Linked DNA regions of Homo sapiens: regions 1, 3 and 4 are each linked to region 2. The links are contacts of gene promoters, found by promoter capture Hi-C in blood cells and fetal thymus (Javierre and others, 2016). All regions are on one chromosome and are shown on one strand. Each heading gives the region's core, a stretch centred on a gene start or on the middle of the fragment in contact. The rest is flanking DNA. Distances are from core to core; before and after follow the strand shown. Region 1 holds the start of LRFN3 (leucine rich repeat and fibronectin type III domain containing 3). Region 2 holds the start of KMT2B (lysine methyltransferase 2B). Region 3 overlaps ATP4A (ATPase H+/K+ transporting subunit alpha). Region 4 overlaps GAPDHS (glyceraldehyde-3-phosphate dehydrogenase, spermatogenic).

Region 1 (5,402 bases), core at 1-2,500, 220 kb before region 2:
GGTACCGTAACCCGCAGCCACAATGCTCCTCCCAGCCCGTCCCCACCTTGAGGTTTCAGCAGCCTTACCTGAGCTAGAAGCAGCCCCAGGGAGCAGAGTCCTAGCTCCAGGGGAGTCAGAGGTCAGGGCTCTGGAGGGAGCATCTGGTCATGCTTTTCCTGTCCCCAAGGCTTCTGTAGAGGGACTGTGTCCTGACTCGGCTCAAATCTGTGGCAACGGAGTCTCCAGACCTTAATACTCGGGGTTCCAGACCCCTAAATATTGGGCCTCTAGGGTCCAGTTTTACGGGTCCAGTTTGGGTTGTTCAGGGTCAGGGTCTCCCAGGTCCAGTCTTGGGATGCTAAGCAGCCAAACGGTGGGGTTTAGAGTCTGAGATCCGATCCCGGGGTTCTGCATTCAGATATTGGGGTGCTGAGTCAAGATTGGGAGGTCTCAAGCCCCAGATTTAAGCACTCAGGTCTGCAGCAAGGACTTCAGGCCCAAACTCGGGTTCAGGCCCCTTGGAATCCCACAGTCCAGATCTTGGAATTTGAGGCCTGAATCCCAGGGTTCAGGTCCCCAAGAGTGGGTTCCAGGGTACAGTACTGGAAATCCAGTCCCAGATTTCAAGGTCCCAGGCCCAGAATTCAGAGTTCAGCTCCAGGCTTGAGGTTTTAGATGTCAAATCTTGGGGTTCTGCTCCAAATATTGGGGTCTGTGTTCCAAATTGTGGGGTTCCGGCTCCAAATATTGAGGTCCCAGTGACCGATGTTGAGATTCCAGCCCCATATACTGGGGTTCAGGCTCCAGATCTTGGGGTTCCACGGCCGGATCTCGGGGTGCTGGTCCCAGATCAGGGTTCCAGGCTCGGGTTTCCGGAATTCCCGATTCAATCTGGGGGTGCAGGCCCCCGAGGTGGAGGTTAGGGCGCGGGGTCCGGGGCGGCGGCGTCCCGGCTGGCTTCCTGGGCTGCGGCGGAGGCTGACTGGGAGGGAGGGGACCGGCTGCGGTGGGGAGGGGGGCGACCGGGCAGCCCCAGGGCCGGGTGGGGCGAGGCCTGGGAGCGGAGGGACGGTCAGACAGACTGGGACACGCGGGATGGGGGCACCGCAGCGCAGGCGGGGGCGCAGGGGGGAGGGGCCGCGCTCAGAGACCCCTCCCCCGCCGGGGCCGAGGCGGGGGCCGGGCGGGGGCCGGGCTGGGCGGGCCGGGTCCAGGCGCTCCCGCGGCCTCCTCGCCGGCAACCCAGGGCAGCGCGCGCACCGGCGCTTAAAGGCGCAGGCTCCGCGCGCACCCGCGCTTAAAGGCGTAGGCACCCGCCCCTTCTCTCAAAGACGCGCCCCGGCCCCACCTCCCATGGAGTCGCACTGGCGCTGCTGGGAAAGAGAATCCCTGGATACAGAGAGACTGAGACAGAGAGACAGAGAAGAACGGAGATACAGAAAGGCAGACAAAAAGATGGGCAGGCTTAGATTGATGGATAGAGAGGAGAAAATGGAAAGAGGCAGAGAGACAGATTGAAACACACACATATTCGAGACATGGAAATGCACAGAGACAGCGAGACACAGAGAGTGATGGAGAGACAAGAGATAAGGACAAGTCAGAGAAAGACAGAAACAGAGATAGAGACGTGCGTGCGCGCGCACACACAGACACACACATACACACTCACACGCTCTAAGACGCAGCACCTGGGCTGTGAGAATGGTATGTGTGTATGTGCATTCAGTAACTATTCCTAGCCTTGAGTGTAGCGCTTCATTCCAGAGCCACTGGCCCCCCAAACCTGTCTCTTTCTGCCCCCCTTATCTCAGCACCACCTCCCTGGAATGTCCTTTCCACGGTTGGAGTTTCCTTACCTGGCCATGCCCAGCAATAGGCTTGATCTTTCAGGCCAGAGGGGCTCCTTCCCAAGGCTCCTTTCTCTGCCTGCAAGAGGGAAAACTTGTGCCATCTGGGATTAGGGAAAGACCTCAAGACACACTGACAGCCGGGGGCGGTGGCTCACGCCTGTAATCCCGGCTCGTTGGGAGGCCAAGGCGGGCGGATCTTTTGAGATCAGGCGTTGGAGACCAGCCTGGCCAACATGGAGAAACCCCGTCTCTACTAAAAATACAAAAATTAGCCGGGTGTGGTGGCGGACGCCCGTAATCCCAGCTACTCGGGAGGCTGAGGCAAGAGAATTGCTTGAACCCGGGAGGTGGAGATTGTAGTGATCTGAGATCCAGCCATTGCACTCCAGCCTGGGTGACAGAGTGAGACTCTGTCTTTAAAAGAAAGAAAGAAAGAAAGAAAAGCAGAGAGGGATGCCTTGCCTTGCAGGAGCCAGGCCAGGTGTCCTTGCAGTGCAGCCCACCAGGATCACCCGGGGGCACCATAGATCTCCAGGTCCCAACCTCAGAGTTTCTGGTTCAGTGGGTCTGAGGTGGGACCCAAACATTTGCATTTTTAACGAGTACCCAGGTGATGCTAATGTGACTTTTCAAAGACCATACTTTTTTTTTTGAGACAGGGTCTTGCTTTGTCACCCAGTACATTGGTGCAATCATAATTGACTGCAACCTCAAATTCCTGGGCTCAAGCAATCCTCCCACCTCAGGCTCCAGAGTAACTGAGACTACAGGCATGCATCGCCATATCCAGCTAATTTTTAAAATTTCTTGTAGAGACAGGGTCTCAATATGCTGCCCAGGCTGGTCTTGAACTCTTGGCCTCAGGCAATCCTCCCTCCCAGGCCTCCCAAAGTGTTGTGATTACAGGTGTGAGCCACTACACCTGGTCAGGGACCACATTTTGAGAACAGCTGGGCTGAACCAGGGCTATCTGCACTGCACACGGAACTGTCTACCACAACAGCTATGCTAAAACCTGGTGGGTTGAGGGCATGTAGCACCGCAGATGTGTACCAAAGAGACAAATGTATTTAGAGACATAAAGAGGAATTCAGTCTATAAGGGACTTAAACAATGCAACAAGCAAAAAACAAATAACCCCATTTTATTATTATTTTATTTATTTATTTATTTTTGAGACAGAGTCTAGCTCTGTTGCCCAGGCTGGAGTGCAGTGGTGTGATCTTGGCTCACCGCAAGCTCCACCTCCCGGGTTCACGCCATTCTCCTGCCTCAGCCTCCCGAGTAGCTGGGACTAGAGGCGTCTGCCACCATGCCCAGCTAATTTTTTTGGTATTTTTATTAGAGACAGGGTTTCACCATGTTAGCCAGGATGGTCTTGATCTCCTGACCTCGTGATCTGCCCGCCTCGGCCTCCTAAAGTGCTGGGATTACAGGCGTGAGCCACAGTGTCCGGCCTATTTATTTATTTATTTTTTTAGACAGAGTCTTACTTTGTTGCCCAGGTTGTAGTGCAGTGGCATAATCTTGGCTCACTGCAACCTCTGCCTCCTTGGTTCAAGTGATTCTCCTGCCTCAGCCTCCCAAGTAGCTGGGATAACAGGCACCTACCACCATGCCTAGCTAATTTTTGTATTTTTAGTAGAGATGGGGTTTCGCCATGTTGGCAAGGCTGGTCTTGAACTCCTGACCTCAGGTGATACCCCCCACCTCGGCCTCCCAAAGTGCTGGGATTACAGGTGTGAGCCACTGCGCCCAGCCCCCATCTCTTTTTTTTTAAGACAGAGTCCTGCTCTGTCGCCCAGGCTGGAGTGCAGTGGCATGATCTCGGCTCACTGCAATCTCCACCTCCTGGGTTCAAGCTATTCTCCTGCCTCAGCCTCCCGAGTAGCTGGGATTACAGGCATGCACCACCACGCTTGGCTGATTTTTATTTTGAGACGGAGTCTCACTCTGTCACCCAGGCTGGAGTGCAGTGGCGTGATCTTTGCTCACTACAACCTCCGCCGCCCGGATTCAAGCGATTCTTCTGCCTCAGCCTCCCGAGTAGCTGGGATTACAGGCATGTGCCACCATGCCCGGCTAATTTTTGTATTTTTAGTAGAGATGGGGTTTCACCATGTTGGCAAGGCTGGTCTTGAACTCCTGACCTCAGGTGATACCCCCACCTCGGCCTCCCAAAGTGCTGGGATTACAGGTGTGAGCCACTGCGCCCAGCCCCCATCTCTTTTTTTTTTAAAGACAGAGTCCTGCTCTGTCGCCCAGGCTGGAGTGCAGTGGCATGATCTCGGCTCACTGCAACCTCCACCTCTTGGGTTCAAGCTATTCTCCTGCCTCAGCCTCCTGAGTAGCTGGGATTACAGGCATGCACCACCACGCTTGGCTGATTTTTATTTTGAGACGGAGTCTCGCTCTGTCACCCAGGCTGGAGTGCAGTGGCATGATCTTGGCTCACTACAACCTCCGCCACCCGGATTCAAGCGATTCTTCTGCCTCAGCCTCCCGAGTAGCTGGGATTACAGGCACGTGCCACCATGCCCTGCTAATTTTTGTATTTTTAGTAGAGATGGGGTTTCACCATGTAGGCCAGGCTGGTCTCAAACTCCTGACCTCAGATGATCCACCCACCCCAGCCTCCCAAAGTGCTGGGATTACAGGCGTGAGCCACTGTGCCTGGCCATTTTTAAAAAAATTTTTAGTACAGATGGGTTTTCACCATGTTGGCCAGACTGGTCTCGAACTCCTGACCTCAGTTGATCCGCCCACCTCAACCTGGGATTACAGTGCTGGGATTACAGGCATGAACCACTGTGCCCGCCCTTTTTTTTTTTTCTTTAAGAGAAATGGTCTTGCTTTGTCGCTGAGGCTGCCATGCAGTGGCATGATCATAGCTCCCTGCAGCCTCAAACTCCTGGGCTGAAGGGATCCTCCCACCTCAGCCTCTCAAGTAGCTGGGACTACAGGAGCATGCCACCATGCCAGGCTAATTGTTTTATTTTTCATGGAGACACGGGGTCTCGCTATGTTGCCCAGGTTGGTCTCAAACTCCCAGACCCAAGCAATCTTCCCGCCTCAGCCTCCCAAAGTGTTGGGATTACAGGCGTGAGCCACTGCACCCAGCTGGGACAACATTTGAAGAGAAGGTCACCTGGACATAAAGGAACAGGCCTATTTAGGCAAGAAAATAATCCCTGGATGGAGATCCCTGTGCAAATCAGGAACCTAAAGACTCCAGCTGTTGACACAAACCACTGCTGATTCAAGTGCTAATCAGAAATCTGATCCCTGTGAACAGAAACCTGTGCTGATTCATGTGCTAACTATAAATCTATGTTGATTGTCAACTTTGTCCTGAAGCAGGTCTAAGTCACAAATTTGGGCAGGAACAAGCGCTGGTAATCAGCGACTCAAAGAGATTCACATGTTAATGACCATCTTGACTTGATTCATGTGCTAATTACAATTTTAGGATAACTGAATAGGGTGATGAGATATTCCTATGAAGAAGAGCCCAGACTTGGTAGCCCGACAGCCTAGTTCAAATCCCAGCTCTGCCACTGACATGTT
Region 2 (4,694 bases), core at 1,903-4,402:
TGGACCGTCTCTTCTCAGGGAGTGGAACTGGGGTAGATGGAGGAGTTGGGGCACGTGGTGGAGAGGGGACTGGTGCTGGCTCCTGGGGAACAGGTGGGGAGGTGGTAATGGGAGGTCGCAGGACAGGTGAGACCTCCACCTTTGGGGGTTTGGGGGGGTCTTCATCCATAAATCGCCGGGGTGTCTTGATGACACGGGAGGAGCGGGCACTCACCACAGGCATAATAAACTGCCGGATATTCTTCAGGAAGGTGGTGCTTTTGGGGGCCACGGTGGGACTGTCTTCCGGAGGGCCTCCCGTGGCGGTGCTGGGGGTTGGAGTGGGAGGAGAGGTGCCCTCTGGCCCTGCCCGAGCAGCTTCCCGCTCCGCCCGCTGGCTGGGAGTCAGGGGAGGCCGGCCCCTCTTCCTGGAGCACGTAGCTGGGACCACAGGAGGAGGGGATTCCTCCTGCTCCTCTTGGGCAGGAGGCGGTGGAGGGGATGGTAGAGGTGGTGGGGACACTGGGGGTGGTGGTGGAGGGCAGAGTGGGGGTGGAGGAGATGTCGAAGGGGGTGGGAGGGGTGGAGGAGGTGAAGGGGCTGGAGGAGTCAGAGGCGGTGGTGGCAGCTTTGCCTCTTCCTTTTCCGCAGCTGGCATCATCTCCTCAGCTACAGCTCTTTCTTCCTTCTCTTCTCCCTCCTTGTCTTTTTCTTCTTCTTCTTTCTTCTCTTCTTCCTCGTCATCCAGCTTCTGTTCCTGCTTTTTCCAGCAAGGGCTCCCTCCCTGTCCAGATCCAACTCTTCTTTGGGGGACATCCTGCCAACTTTCCTCATGTTGACCTTGACCTTGACCTGATTCGAGTCCCAAGGACAATTGTCCCATCTTTACTTTTTTGGCCCTTGAAACAAACTTGATCACAAAGGGGAGCCCACCACCTCGGCCGCGGCCCCTGCCTCCACGGCCTCCACGGCTTGACTGTCCTCCACGCCTGGGGGTCCCAGGTCCTGGACCGGGCCCCTCCTTGCATTTCCAGCTGCCAGTCTGATGTTTCACTGGAACCACAGGAGGTGGGGGCTCAGGTTTGGGGATTGTCACAGCTGCTTCTGCCACCACTACTGCTTGCTGCTTCCTCCTGCAGGGGCCTGCTGGCCGTCCTGGGGGCCGTCCCCGAGACCGCCGGGGGGTGGAGGGCTCACATGCCCGGCTCCGGGGTGCTTGGGGTGCCTGGGCCCGCCGGAGAAGTTCAGTCAGTGCCTGCACCATCCGTTCTGTGCCTTCCTCACCCCGTTTCCGGGCAGGGGTCTTTGGGGGGGTAGGAGCCACATCTGCTAGGCGAGGAGGAGGAAGGGGGGTCGTCTTATGCTTGCGACCCCGACCTCGGGGCGCTCGACCTAAAAGGAGAATAGTTGTGGGGAGATGGATCAAGCCAGCCCTACACACAGAGGAAGGCGCTCCAGGAGGGCAGGGACTAAGTCTTGCTTGTGTGTTTCCCCCGCTGCCCAGACTAGCTTGGACTCTGAACACAGAACACATTCGGCAACTGACAGAGGCTAGTTGAACAGGGAAGAGCTGACACGAAGGGCGAGGATAAATTCCTGTGACGCTAAAGAGGTGGAGTTCCCCCGTCACTCACCTCGCTGGGATCGGAGCGCAGAGCGCAGGGAACTGGGGGCCACATCTTCATCTGAATGAAAACCCTGAAACTCCTGATTTAGGGGACCGGGGTGGAGGGGAGAAACAGCAGTCAGTGCCAAAGCCCTCGTTCCATCTGAGGTATCGAGGAATATCCCCAGTTCCCACTTAGCATACCCCTGCCTATTTAAAAAGAACGAAAAAGACTCAAAGGTCGCGGGTAGTGGAAGAGAGGGTCTCTCCCTAGGGATGGAGGCGCCAGGTATTTCGAACTCCGATCCCCAGTGCCGGACCACACCAGCACAGCCAAAGCCATGGTTCACTGGCCCAAGAGAGAAGACGACAGGGTCTCCTCAGGAAAGGCAGCAGGCCCCATACTCAGATTCCTTCAGAGTCCAATTCAGACCAAAGTGGGACCTCCACTGACACCCTTTCGGGCCACAATTTATTTCTGCATTAAGTTGGGAACAGGGGCCCGCAAGTGAAGGGGCGGGGAGGGCATCAGATGGCTTTCGTACAGGCTCCACTGCGAGCTCTCAGGTTGTTATTAACCGTCCAGGGCAACGCAACCCACACCTTCCTGCCTGTTCTGAAAGGCTGGGGGAGAAATCCTGAGCTGAGCTCTGACCTGCTAGAGTGCCCAGTCCCGGCCTTCATCCCACTCCTGTTCAACCCGAGCCCCAAGAGGAAGCCCTCCACCACTCTACCTGAGATGCCAAGAGAAACTGGGGCCCTGGAGAAACCAGGAGGTTGCGAGGCCCGGCGGGGCGGCCCACAGGTAAGAGCCCAGACAGCTCCAACCTGTCTGCCAAGGCCACGCTGCCGCTGTCAACCACGACTGGCTGGACATGCAGTCCCCACTGCCTCCTCGCCCAAACCTCCACCGCCCTAGCTTTGCCAGCTGCCGAAAAGGATCGGCCCAAGACACTTCAGCGGGACCGACATCGGGCGCGAGTGCCTGGCTGCAGCCGGGGCTTCTCTACCCACTTCCAGAGGCCCTTTCCCCCGGAAGCTGCATGCAGCCGCCCTCCCTCCGTGCCCCGTCTCTCCGAAGGAACCCTGAGGACCCGGCCTGCCCACGCCGCCCCCGGGACAACCCAGACCCCTGGAAGCCCCGGCCTCCGCCCCACCCGGCGCCGGGGACGCCTCCAACCGCCTCACCTCCTCGTCGGATTCCCCGTCACTGCTCTCCTCCTCCGGCACGCAGCCTCGACTCGGGCCCCAGCCCCGGCCCCGACCCCGTCCCCGGCCCCGCTGGACCCGCGGGCCGGCCCACAGGCGGCGGAGCCGGCGCAGGCCCCGGCGGAGCCCCAGCAAACGGAGCAGGGCCGTGTCCTCCCCGGGCTCGGCTCCGCCCGGCCCCGTCGCGCCACCGCCGCGCCGCAGAGCTACCCGCACTCTTTCGGCCCCGTTGCCCCGTCCGCCGCGGCCCCCGCCCCCGCCGGCGCCCCGCGGCCGGCCCGGGAAGCGGCCCCGCGCGGAGCCAGGCCCGGGGCAACTGCCGCCGCCCGCCGCCGCCGCCATCTTGGCACCGTGAGAGGGGCCGGGGAGGCGGGGGGAGGGGCGGCCCGTGCGCAGGGCCGGGGGGAGGGGAGAGAGCGGGGGCGGGGCGGGGCGGCCGCGGCGCACGACAACAACCAGCGCCGCCGCGGGAGACCGGGGGCCGGGCCGGCCACGCGCAGGGCACCACGGGAGAGGGAGTCCGCGGCCGGCCGGCGCCCTCGGACCGCACCTGGGGAGCACAGACCCCCGCGTCGCGGCCGCAGAGGGGCGAACCGCGGGGGCCTCCGGGAAATGTAGTCCGGACGCCTCGCTTCTTCCGCCGGCAGCCAGGGCGCGAGGGCCGGGACGGCGGGGTTCCCGGCCAGGACCCGGAAAGCGGGTTGCCGGGTCTCCGGGAGGTGTGGTCCTAGCCCCAGGCTCCTCCCATTGTTCTTGGCTAGGCCGGCGGCCCGCGTGGACTACCACTCCCAGGGTGCCGCGGGCTCGGGCCCCGGGACCCCCGAGGCCCTGGGAAATGCAGTTCGCGGCTGCAGGAGGCGTGGGCTGGAGAAGGAGCGGTGGAAAGCATAGTCAGTCTCCGTTCCAGGCGCGACCTGGCGGCGGCTTGGCACGGTGTGGAGGGAAGACGCCGGAGAGGCCGCGGTCTCGGGGTCCGTGTGCTCCCGGAGAGGAGGCGGGTGGCCGAAAGCAGGGTCGGAGCACGCGTTCCTCTCTCTCCCGGGCCGAGCGTTCCCAGATCAGACTCCGCGCGCCGTGGATTGCAGTGGAAGGGGCGAGTGACTTGCGGTCGCACAGCCCCCACCAGTCCAGGACCGGCATGCCGCAAGGTGTGCCCGGACACCGAGTCCTCGGGGCCGGCTGCCTCCTGGGGAGGACGGGGCGCCTCGGGGGTGGAAGAAGTGTCCATCCCGCTGGACAGCGGACGCAGGGCCACCAGGGGCCGCTACAGGACAAGGGGCGTGGGCGGGGGTGTGCACAGACTAAACTCGGCTTTCTAGTCCTGAAGGGAGGGCACAGGAAACTCTTTATTATGGTGATGAGATCGACAATCTCCCCTACTGTTAACCTTCGCTCCTGCACACTTCAGTGTCCTCACTCTGTAGGGCTCGCTGGCCTGGGCTTCTGCGACCCGCGATCGTCCAGGAGAGGGCACTCGGCGCCCTTCCTGGGGCGCTTCTGGGGCGGAATTTGCTAGGCCGCCGTAGCAGCGGTGCCAGGTCAGAAGCCGAGCCGGCCCGCTTTTCGTTCTTTAATTGGACTCTTGGCTAAGACGCTACCGACACCCCGTCAGGTGGTGGAGGAAGAAGGACAACAGGGAGAGGTCGAGGGCCGAGACGGCCTCGAGGAGGAGTAGAGGAAGGTGGAGCGGATGGTCCATCCGGGCGGGAGTTGGCTGGGCGAGTGACCGCGCATGTGCGCCTGCATGGAGGCCAGGCTGGGACAGCCGGCCCCGCACAGGGAGCAGCGGTACGGAGCGGCCCCGTGTGTCCGCAGGTGCTTGGTCATGGCCGAGAAGTCCCGGGAGCGCTGAGGACAAAGGCTACAGGAGAAGGGCTTCTCTCCTAGAGCGGTCGGAAGG
Region 3 (4,792 bases), core at 698-3,197, 160 kb after region 2:
CTCGCTCTCCAAATCCGCCCCCAGCCCAACTCCGCACCCTAATTCTGTTCATTCCCTGCGTCCAGGACTCCAAATCTGCACCTAGCCCCGCCTTAACGCTTACCTTCTACCAAGGACCCCTCCACACAAGGCCTCCATCTTCCACCTTCACCCTTCCCCGCAGCTCTCAGAGCCCGCACCGAGCTCTCGGCCCCGCCCCTCTCCTCAGCCCCGCCCCGTTCCCTCGTCCACAGCCCCGCCCCGTTCCCCCGTCCACAGCCTCGCCTCTCCCCCCCGCCCACAGCTGTCCATCCATACGCTGGAGGACCCGCGGGACCCGCGACACTTGCTGGTGATGAAGGGCGCCCCCGAGCGCGTGCTGGAGCGCTGCAGCTCCATCCTTATCAAGGGCCAGGAGCTGCCGCTGGACGAGCAGTGGCGCGAGGCCTTCCAGACCGCCTACCTCAGCCTGGGAGGCCTGGGCGAACGCGTGCTCGGTGAGACCCCTGGGCAGGGGAGGAGACTCCAGGTGCGAGGAGGAGCTAGCACAGACCCTGCCCACCACTCCCGGCCCAGCCCTGACCGTCCTCATCCCTGGCTGCTGGCTGATTTGTCGCAGTCCACAGCCTCACCCTTGACTTTCCCTGTACCAGTCCTGACCCCTGTCTGTCCTCACTTTCTACCTTGACCCCAGTCCTCACCTGGACTTTTATCCGTATCCTGACCTCTAACCTCTCCCAATTTTTGTCCTGACGCCTTAAACTTCGCTGCCTCTACCCTAGAAAGCAGATCTGTGGTCCAATTCTGGGCCTTTTACTTGCTGTGTGACCTCTGGCAAGAAATGTCCCCTCTCTGAGCCTCAGTTTCCTCATCTGTAAGATGAGAATGGGCCTCACAGGGTGGTTGTGAGGGTAGATTCAGATAATGTGAGTGAAGGGGTCAGCACAAGGTCAGGCATCCATAGGTGTTTGGTGCAAGGGGCCTGGTTATTTTACCCATTTCCTGGCCCTGCTAAGAAAGGGTGTGCCCAGGGCTCTTCCCTGACTTCCCCGTTTCCGGTCAGGCTTCTGCCAGCTCTACCTGAATGAGAAGGACTACCCGCCTGGCTATGCCTTCGACGTAGAGGCCATGAACTTTCCATCTAGCGGCCTCTGCTTTGCGGGACTTGTATCCATGATTGACCCACCCCGGGCCACCGTCCCTGATGCTGTGCTCAAGTGTCGCACCGCAGGCATCCGGGTATGCCACTGTGGGGAGGAACAAGTGGAGTGAGGACAGAGGATGGCAGCAGGATTTGGGTTGAAGAACCCCATGACAAACCCACCTGAAACTGGCTTGAACCAAAATGCATTGGTTTATGATACTGAAAAATTCTGGGGAATTAAGCTTCAGGTCTAGCCAGATCCAGGAGCTCAGTGTCATTAGGAATTTTCCTTTCTCCATGTCTCAGCTCTGCTGTTCTCTTTGCTGGCTTTATTTGCAGGCACTCCCTTCACTTGGGGACACACACACCCCTGCTCCAGCAGCTCAAACTTAACTCCCACCTGCTTAGCCACCCCACAAAAAGAGAGTGCCTCTTTTGCAGTAGCACTGGATTGGGTCACTCATTTATCCCTGAGCCAGTCACTGGGGCTGGGGGATGGAAGACCTTGATTGGCCAGGTCTGGGCTTACTTACCCAATCTTAGCCAGGGACCTCACTGCAACTGATGGTGTAGGGGAGAGGAGTGGTTCCCCAAACACAAAACAAGGGTGGGAAAGCCAAGGCCAGGCAGGCAATGCCCAAGCCCTTCCCGTGTCTCTACGGCCCTGTTACATCGGGCCTTGTTACCTTTCTAAGCTTGTTCGTTAGCCCTCTTTCCTTGTTCACTCCTCTGCAGTTATGGTGTCCTCCCTGCTGTTCCTCCGACAGTTCGGGCCTGTCCTCACCTCAGGGCCTTTGCACCTGCTGTTCTCCCTGCCAGGAGCACTCTTCTCCCAGCTTTCCACGTGGCTGACTCTCTCACCTCTTACAGGTCTCTGCTCAGATATCACCTTCTCAATAAGCCCTTCCCTGGGTACACTTAAAATCGAGTCACCGTTTCCTTCACCAAGCTTAATATGTTTTTTTCCACTTTCTAACACACTATATAATTCGTTTCTTTATTTTCTGTCACCCTCACTAGAGCTCCTCAAGGACAGGGATTTTTGTCTCTTTTGTCTCTGCTATATCCCAGGCACGTAGGAGGTGGTCACGCTTGGTCAAGTAAATGAACACGTGTATCAGCAGATGTCTCCCAGGGAGGACAGGGAGATTGGGCTGATCTGAAGGGGTCAGTGATCCACTGGTTCCCCCTACAGGTGATCATGGTAACGGGTGACCACCCCATCACCGCCAAGGCCATTGCAGCCAGTGTGGGCATCATCTCGGAAGGCAGCGAGACAGTGGAGGACATCGCTGCCCGCCTCCGTGTGCCCGTAGACCAGGTTAATCGCAAGTAAGCCCCCCCAGACCTCCCCGGGGTTCTCCCCACATCTGGCACAGACCGAGGTCCCAGCGAGGTCCTCCCATCTCCTCCCCAGGGATGCCCGTGCCTGTGTGATCAATGGCATGCAGCTGAAGGACATGGACCCATCGGAACTGGTCGAGGCCCTGCGCACCCACCCCGAGATGGTGTTTGCGCGCACCAGCCCCCAGCAGAAGCTGGTGATCGTGGAGAGCTGCCAGCGGCTGGTGAGCCCTGCTGATGAGGGTGGGCAGGCGGGCAGACAGGCGGGGCTGGTCTTGGACCGGCCTCTCACTGACCACCCACCCACCACCTGCACCCACTGCCTGCAGGGTGCGATTGTGGCCGTCACGGGGGATGGTGTGAATGACTCCCCAGCTCTGAAGAAGGCAGACATCGGAGTAGCCATGGGCATCGCTGGCTCAGATGCTGCCAAAAATGCAGCTGACATGATCCTGCTGGATGACAACTTTGCCTCCATTGTGACAGGCGTGGAGCAGGGTCCGAGCCACGCCAGGGGGAGGGCAGGCAGTGTGGGCACAGGAGGGAGAGGGCTGTGAGGAGGCTGAGGTGCCCACCCTACCCCACAGGTCGACTGATCTTCGACAACCTGAAGAAGTCTATTGCCTACACATTGACCAAGAACATCCCAGAGCTGACACCCTACCTCATCTACATCACCGTCAGCGTGCCCCTGCCCCTCGGGTGCATCACCATCCTCTTCATCGAACTCTGCACTGACATTGTAAGTCCACAGCCCAGGGTACCCATCCACAGGGTGCCCAGAGACACTTGCTTGCAGATGGACAGGAGGGACAGAGACCACCACAGACACTCTTGGGCACAGAGTGACAGACAAGACCTGTGTGTGCAATGACAGCCAGTGCAGGACACATGGGTGGCAGGCAGGTGAACAGACCTAAATGGACATACAGCCATGCACACACAGGCGGACACTCAGGTAGGCCCGGGCCGACCCATGCACACACATGACTCAGATACAGATACTCAGACAGAGATGGAAACAGAACAGGTATCTGGCCAAACTTGAATCACAGACACGTGCCCCTAAACAGACACGGACAAATAAACCCCCTCAGATAGACCCCATGGCAGACAGACAGAAAAGAACCACAGATACAGTCACGAATGCAGCCAGAGGCGCAGCTGTGTTGACAGGTATTTATTCGGTAACATTTACACAGTGCTTTCTCTGGGCCAGACACACCATCATTTCCTTAATTTTGTACTCATAACCACACTATGAGATGAGTTTTGTTACTATCACCCGTACTTTACTGATGAGCTCATCAAGGCATAGACAGGTAGAGTGGATTGTCCCAGGTCACTGGGCAAATAAGTGGCCCGGCTGTGACTTGAGCTTGAGCAGTCACAGGTCCCACAGCCTGTGGTCGTGGTCAGTATGCTCTGCTGCCACTCTAGGCACAAGCAGATGAAGGGGCACGGCGACACTGAGAGACTGAAGATACACAGAGATAGGGAGTGACACAGAAATACACAAGAGCAGATACAGTCACAGAGAATTACACTGGAGACAGGGACAGAGAAACAGAGTGAGGAACAGAGAAAGAGAGGGAGGGAGACAGAGGGAGAAGATAAAAGCAGATGTTCTTACGAAGATGGGCACCAGGATGCCAACACCCAGGGGCCAGTGGGGCCCAGGCTGTCCAGGCTGGTGTGGCTGTGCCGTCCCTGCAGGTCCTGCCTGCTAACCTCAGTCCTGTTCCTGCTCACAAGTGGGGGAAGGGGGACCCGAAGTGGAGGGGACAAGGGCCCAGCCAAACCCTCAGTCCCAGTTCCTTCCACTCCTGGCCAGTTCCCATCTGTGTCCCTGGCATATGAAAAGGCCGAGAGTGACATCATGCACCTGCGTCCACGCAACCCAAAGCGTGACAGATTGGTCAACGAGCCCCTGGCTGCCTACTCCTACTTCCAGATTGGTGGGTGCCCGTGGGCCGGGGAGCCTGGAGGTGGGGGGCTCTGCGCTGGGCTGCTCGCCTGCCCCAGGCCCTGCCTTGGGCTCCGGCTGGTTCTGGACCTCAGTGTCTGCATTTGGTCCTGGGTCTCCGTTGTCCTCCGTGTCCCTCTCTGTTTGTGACAGTCTCTCTGGTTCTGCTGTGTCCCTGCTCTCTCTCTGACCTTGCTCTCCATGACCCTGTCTCTGAGTTGTTGCCTATTTCTGTCTTTTTGGGTCCTGGATGTGTCTTTTTCTCTCTGTCCCTGCCTCTGTCTCTCTGTCCCTGCTTCTCTCTCTGCCTCTGTGTCTCTGTCACTGTTTCTGTGTCCCTGGCTCTGTGTGTCCTTGAC
Region 4 (5,214 bases), core at 2,024-4,523, 180 kb after region 2:
TTTGCTGTGGGGAAGTGGCAGGGCTGAGTCAGTCTCCCCTGCTTGAGCCCCACCTTCATAGTCCATGGCTTTCACCATTTGACAGGCTGAGCAGGTACCGGCCCACCTGCAACCACCTGCGTCCCCTACCCCACACACCTACTTGTTCCAGATGGGCTCCACCCCGCTGGCCTAGCTTTTCACCACTGCCCCACTTCAGACCACTTTCCCTTTGCTGATTGCACCACCCCTGTTATGCCTGGGTACAGGTGGTGACCTCCCCAACTCAGCCCTCAACCTCCTCAGAGGCGCCAATGCTGACTGCTGTCAGCCAGCCCAGACCCTTTCTCCATATGCTGCCCGGGACGTGGACTCTGTGACTGTGAGGCCTGCCCGGCTGCTTTCTGCTTCCCAGCTCTGACAACCTCGCCATGAACCCTCCTAGACCCTCAGCTCCTGCAATAGGAAGCTGGCTGCCAAAGGCCAGGAGGGTCCCTGAAAACAGACACTGCATTAAAGAAAAAGCTCCTGGAGGACTCCTGAAGCCTGAGGCAGCCTTGGGGCAGCAGTGGCTCATGGTTTACATTGGAAAGGTAAGGGAGGTTTCTGGTTTCCTGTTTTATAAATTTATGTTTTTACTTGGTATTTTGACAAACATTTGTATTTGAAGCACACTAAACATCTAGTATTGCCGTTTTCTACTTGGCTTTAGCAAACAAGCATTAAGTGAATAAACTGTTCCACTTTCTTCCTTCCCAGGTTTATCATGAGTAACCGGGTGCTTTGCTTCTGTGATTCTTGGCCAGTGTCGGTCTGTTTCCTTTGCCATTGAGCCTGCTCCCCTCAATGGGGGGTTCAATCAATGTTTGTGGGGTTTGTTTGTTTTGAGACAGGGTCTTCCTCTGTCGCCCAGGCTGGAGTGCAGTGGTGCAATCAGAGCTCACTGCAGCCTTGATCTTCCTGGCTCCGGCCATCCTCCTGCCTTGGCCTCCCGAGTAGCTGGGACTACAGGCGCACACCACCATGCCAAGCTAATTTTTAAATTTTTTTGTAGAGATGGGGTCTCACTTTTGTTGCCCAGGGTGCTTTAGAACCCCTGGGCTCAAGTGATCCTTGACCTCCCACAGTGCTGGGATTACAGGTGTGAGCCACCGTGCCTGGCCTCATGGGTTTTCTTTGTTTTGTTTTGTTTTGTTTTTGAGACAGAGTCTCACTCTGTCACTCAGGCTGGAGTGCAGTGGCACGATTTTGGCTCACTGCAACCTCCACCTTCCGGGTTCAAGCGATTCTCCTGCCTCCGCCTCCCGAGTAGTTGGGGTTACAGGCATGCGCTACCACACCTGGCTAGTTTTTTATTGTTGTTGTTTTTTGTATTTTTAGTGGTGACGGGGTTTGCTCTGTTGGCCAGGCTGGTCTCAAACTCCTGACCTCAGGTGATCCCCACTTCAGCCTCCCAAAGTGCTGGGATGACAGGCATGAGCCTCTGCACCTGGCCTCGTGTTTTTTTTTTAGTTAGCCATTTTATACGTGTTTACTGAACACCTGTCCTGTGCCCATATTCTAAGTGCCTTACCTGCATTAAACTCATGTAACCTTCACAACCCGATGAGGAAGTGCTACCGCTGTCATTTTTTGCATTTTTTTACTGCTGTCAGGGCAGAGGGGAGGGGAGTGAGAGGGAGAGCCTGCTGGAGTGCAGGTGGCTGGTCCCACCTCGGGTCTGCACTCCTGTTTCCACTGCCTGAATGAATGAATGAATGGGCTGCCCTGCAAAGCCATCACACATGCATGGTTATCCTCTTCCTGTCTCCTGCTCTGTCAGTCCACTTTCCATCATCTGGCCCAACGAGCTCTTCTCAGATACCCCCCATTTCCTGCCTTCCAAATTAGGGACACTTGCGATTCCTCTGCAACAATTGCTGAGTTGGCCTGAGGCAAAGACTGTGCCCCCAGAAGACCCCAGGCCCTCCCCAAGGCTGTCATGGGCCCCAGCCTCCTGCCCACCAGGCTGTTTTGAGGATTCCATTCATTCATTCAAAGGAAGTTCTGAATGGCTATCAGGGCCTGTACCTGCTAATGCCAGAGCAACAGTGGTGGTACCAGTTGACAGAGCCCTCCGTGCAAGGCCATGGCCTTGTGGGAAGTGCCCGTTTAAGTGTCCACAAACACATGTTCACTCCATTCGTGCTCCCAGCTACCGCTGTGGTGGGTTTGCTCATCATCCCCATCAGATACAGCGGGGAACTGAGGCTCAGGCAAGTTTGGTTCCTTGCCCAAGGTCACCCAGCTAGCTAGCGGAGGTGCAGGGCAGAGTGCAGGCACACAGCCTGGCTTGTGCAGCCCAACAGTGCGGGGATGGAGAGGGGGCTGGAGGGGCGGGGAACTGCATTGCACAAGTGACCAGAGAAGGCAAGACCTGAGTCGGGACCGTGGACGGAGGGGGCAGCTAGGTGGGGAAGAGGGATGACTCCAAGTGGCGGTAATGGTGGTGGCCACGTTGAAGTCTGCGTGATAACTATGGTGCTGGAGTTGTTTCTAGTGTCATGATTTCAAACTTGGGTTAAGCAGCTTTCTTCAATTTTCACTGACTCTCCAGTCTCTGCCCCCTGCCCACAAACTTCCTGCACCCATCCCTGCCCCTTTATCACTCACCCTACCCCCAGTAAGTACAAGGAGAAGGGCTGAGATTAGATCTGTGGGGAGGGGCGCTGGGGAGGCTGCAGACCCTGCCTGGGCCCAGACAGGGTTCACTAGTGTGCCTGTGTGTATTTGCATGTGTGTGGGCCTGTGGGTGTGTATGTGTAAAAGCCCCAGGCAGCCACAGAGCCAGGAGTCGCTAATAGTTTACATTAGAAAGGTGAATGTCAGCCAAAAATAAAATTCTAAACTCCCCCAACTAACTGAATGTAGCCCTTCTCTCGGCCCAGGGCATTCTAAAGTAAAACTGAAACACTGGTTCAGGCCATGATGGGAACGGATGTTCGGATGTTCGCACAAGCCTCATTATACCTTCCTCCCTTTGGAATTCAGGCATAGTTGACCAGCAGTGGTCAATGGGAGCTGAATAGGTGTGGGTTGAAGGGGAATCAAGAGTTGAGTTCTGGACATGTTGATATGCCCACGAGAAAACATGCAAATGTGCGTTAAAGCAAAATGCAGTGGCTCCTGCCTGTAATCCCAGCACTCTGGGAGGCCAAGGTGGGAGGATTGCTTGGGGCCAGGAGTTTGAGACCAGCCTGGGCCAGATGGCAAGACCTCATCTCTACAAAAAATTTGCCAGGTGTGGTGGCTGGTGCCCACTACTTGGGAGGCCGAGGTGGGAGGACCACTTGAGCCCGGGAGGTCAAGGATGCGGTGAGCTATGATTACACCACTGCACTCCAGACTGGGCAAAAGAGTGATACCCCGTCCCTAAAAAAAATATAAAGAAAAAGCATTCTTCAGTACAGTGAGGCATCTTTTTAGATTAGTGCTTCTTAATCATTTTAGGGGTGAAGGACCTGAGACTTCCCTCTTCAAATTAGTACCTAGAGGCATGCACACGCAATTTTGGGGGTGGTTTCAGCACCCCATGTGAGAGGCTGGAATCCCATTTTAGCCACCTCCACATGCCCTGCCTCAATATGTCACAGCCGTGCATCAGACAGATGCTTTCCTTACCACTGGTAGACAGAGATCTCATGGTTGTCCACGACCAGTTGTCCATTCCTGAATTCCACACTTCCCTTGTATCGGCCGTGGGTGGAGTCATACTTAAACATGTACACCTGTGGGGGATGGAATGGCTCCTAGTCTTGGGGTGGCAGGGTGAGGATCCCTAGAGAGTCCCCTCTTTGGTGAAGGTCTCACATTACAGCTGAGAGCCTTCCATACAGCTTCCCTGAGTCCCTTTCCCACCCCAGTCCCACCCTGCTGTTCCTGCCCTCTGCCAGCTACTGACCATGTATTCCGGGTCAATGAATGGATCATTCACAGCCACCACCTTAACACCCTTCTCCATGCAGGCGCGCAGGACCAGGCGACCGATGCGTCCAAATCTGGCCAGGGACAGACAGGAAGGGATGGGAGAGAAGGGGGTAATGGAGAGGAGGCTCCCTCAAGGAGCCTGGTTGGGAATCCTTAATCCAGGGGAAGAAGGCAACAACCTCTGTGCTGGCCATGGGCATCTCTTGCCAAGATGACCTCACCAGCCCCTTTAACTGCTTTTTCAGCTCCCTCTCCCAATCCGTTCCCTAACCCATATATACATATATATATATATATATTTTGAGATGGAATCCAGCTCTTTCGCCCAGGCTGGAGTGCAGTGGCGCTATCTGGGCTCATTGCAACCTCTGCCTCCTGGGTTCAAGTGATTCTCCTGCCTCAGCCTCCCAAGTAGCTGGGACTACAGGCGCGTACCACCACACCTGGCTAATTTTTGTATTTTTAATAGAGACGGGGTTTTGCCATGTTGGCCAGGCTGGTCTCGAACTCCTGACCTCAAGTTGATAGACCCGCCTTGGCCTCCCAAAGTGCTGGGATTACAGGCGTGAGCCACTGCGCCTGGCTCCTAACCCCTATTCTTAACCTTGTAGCTGGATGGATCTTTTATTTTTTCATTAAACAATTAAAACAATTTTTTTCTGTAGAGACAGAGTCTCGCTATGTTGCCCACGCTGGTCTCAAACTCCTGGTCTCAAAGGATTCTCCTACCTTGGCCTCCCAAAGTGCTGGGTTTACAGGTGTGAGAGCCTGGATGGATCTTAAAACTTCAAGACAGATTACGTCTCTTGGCATGAAAACATCCACGACTGTCCATCAGTAAAACAAGATCCACACTCCTTACTGTGGTGTAGCAGCCCCCTCCGGGCTTCTCACTGGCCTCCCTCCTTTTCCCTTTGCTTGGTGGACACCAGCCACTCTGACTTCCTGGCTGTCCCTGAACATACTGAGCTCGCCTCTGCCCCAGAATCATTGCTTGTCCCGCTGCCTGGAAGACTCCTTCCCCAGCAAGGTGCCCTGGGAGCTGGCTGTGTCTCATCACTCTGGTCCCGCTCCAATGACACCTTCTCCCCAAGGCCTTCCCTGATCACTGGCAAAGGCTGCCCTCTCCAGCCTGACTTTTCCACTGGATTCTACACTGTTCCCAGCACACTCTACTGAACAATCTAATTTCTTTATTTGATTACTGTCTTCCCCACCAGCATGCTGCTGAGCATGGGGCCCTGTCTGCCTTGCTCCGGGCTATTTCTC

The links. Contacts are between HindIII fragments. The CHiCAGO score rates a contact against its expected background, and 5 or more counts as called.
Region 1: the fragment with the promoter of LRFN3 here is called in contact with the fragment with the promoter of KMT2B in region 2 in 2 of 17 cell types (neutrophils and activated CD4 T cells); the score reaches 5.2 in neutrophils.
Region 3: a contact is called between a fragment that was not itself captured here and the fragment with the promoter of KMT2B in region 2, in 10 of 17 cell types (neutrophils, megakaryocytes, monocytes and 7 more). The highest score is 12.6, in neutrophils.
Region 4: a fragment that was not itself captured here is called in contact with the fragment with the promoter of KMT2B in region 2 in 2 of 17 cell types (neutrophils and monocytes); the score reaches 7.5 in neutrophils.

What each region holds. Positions count from the first base shown.
Region 1 is chr19:35,932,222-35,937,623 of GRCh38, reverse strand. LRFN3 (leucine rich repeat and fibronectin type III domain containing 3) reads right to left here and starts at 1,250. Exons shown (of 3, transcript NM_024509.2): 1 at 69-1,250. The HindIII fragment of the contact is 21,793 bases long and covers 1-5,402 here.
Region 2 is chr19:35,716,461-35,721,154 of GRCh38, reverse strand. KMT2B (lysine methyltransferase 2B) reads right to left here and starts at 3,152. Exons shown (of 37, transcript NM_014727.3): 1 at 2,774-3,152; 2 at 1,614-1,686; 3 at 1-1,371. The coding sequence starts at 3,136. It overlaps ZBTB32 (zinc finger and BTB domain containing 32), which reads right to left. Exons shown (of 7, transcript NM_014383.3): 7 at 4,117-4,677. The coding sequence ends at 4,403. RefSeq lists silencers at 2,718-2,767, 2,818-2,897, 2,938-3,007, 3,028-3,077, 3,158-3,637 and enhancers at 2,363-2,920, 4,208-4,487, 4,040-4,599. The HindIII fragment of the contact is 14,363 bases long and covers 1-4,694 here.
Region 3 is chr19:35,553,339-35,558,130 of GRCh38, reverse strand. ATP4A (ATPase H+/K+ transporting subunit alpha) reads left to right here. Exons shown (of 22, transcript NM_000704.3): 11 at 284-476; 12 at 1,043-1,218; 13 at 2,319-2,455; 14 at 2,541-2,691; 15 at 2,797-2,965; 16 at 3,055-3,209; 17 at 4,302-4,425. Among named protein-coding and RNA genes, the nearest start is that of ATP4A, 7.9 kb to the left of the region's middle. RefSeq lists enhancers at 1-36, 106-195. The HindIII fragment of the contact is 254 bases long and covers 1,821-2,074 here.
Region 4 is chr19:35,537,109-35,542,322 of GRCh38, reverse strand. GAPDHS (glyceraldehyde-3-phosphate dehydrogenase, spermatogenic) reads right to left here. Exons shown (of 11, transcript NM_014364.5): 3 at 3,920-4,016; 4 at 3,640-3,746; 5 at 1-4. It overlaps TMEM147-AS1 (TMEM147 antisense RNA 1), which reads left to right. Exons shown (of 4, transcript NR_038396.1): 3 at 249-572; 4 at 739-1,585. Among named protein-coding and RNA genes, the nearest start is that of TMEM147, 5.9 kb to the left of the region's middle. RefSeq lists an enhancer at 1,691-2,190. The HindIII fragment of the contact is 7,412 bases long and covers 1-5,214 here.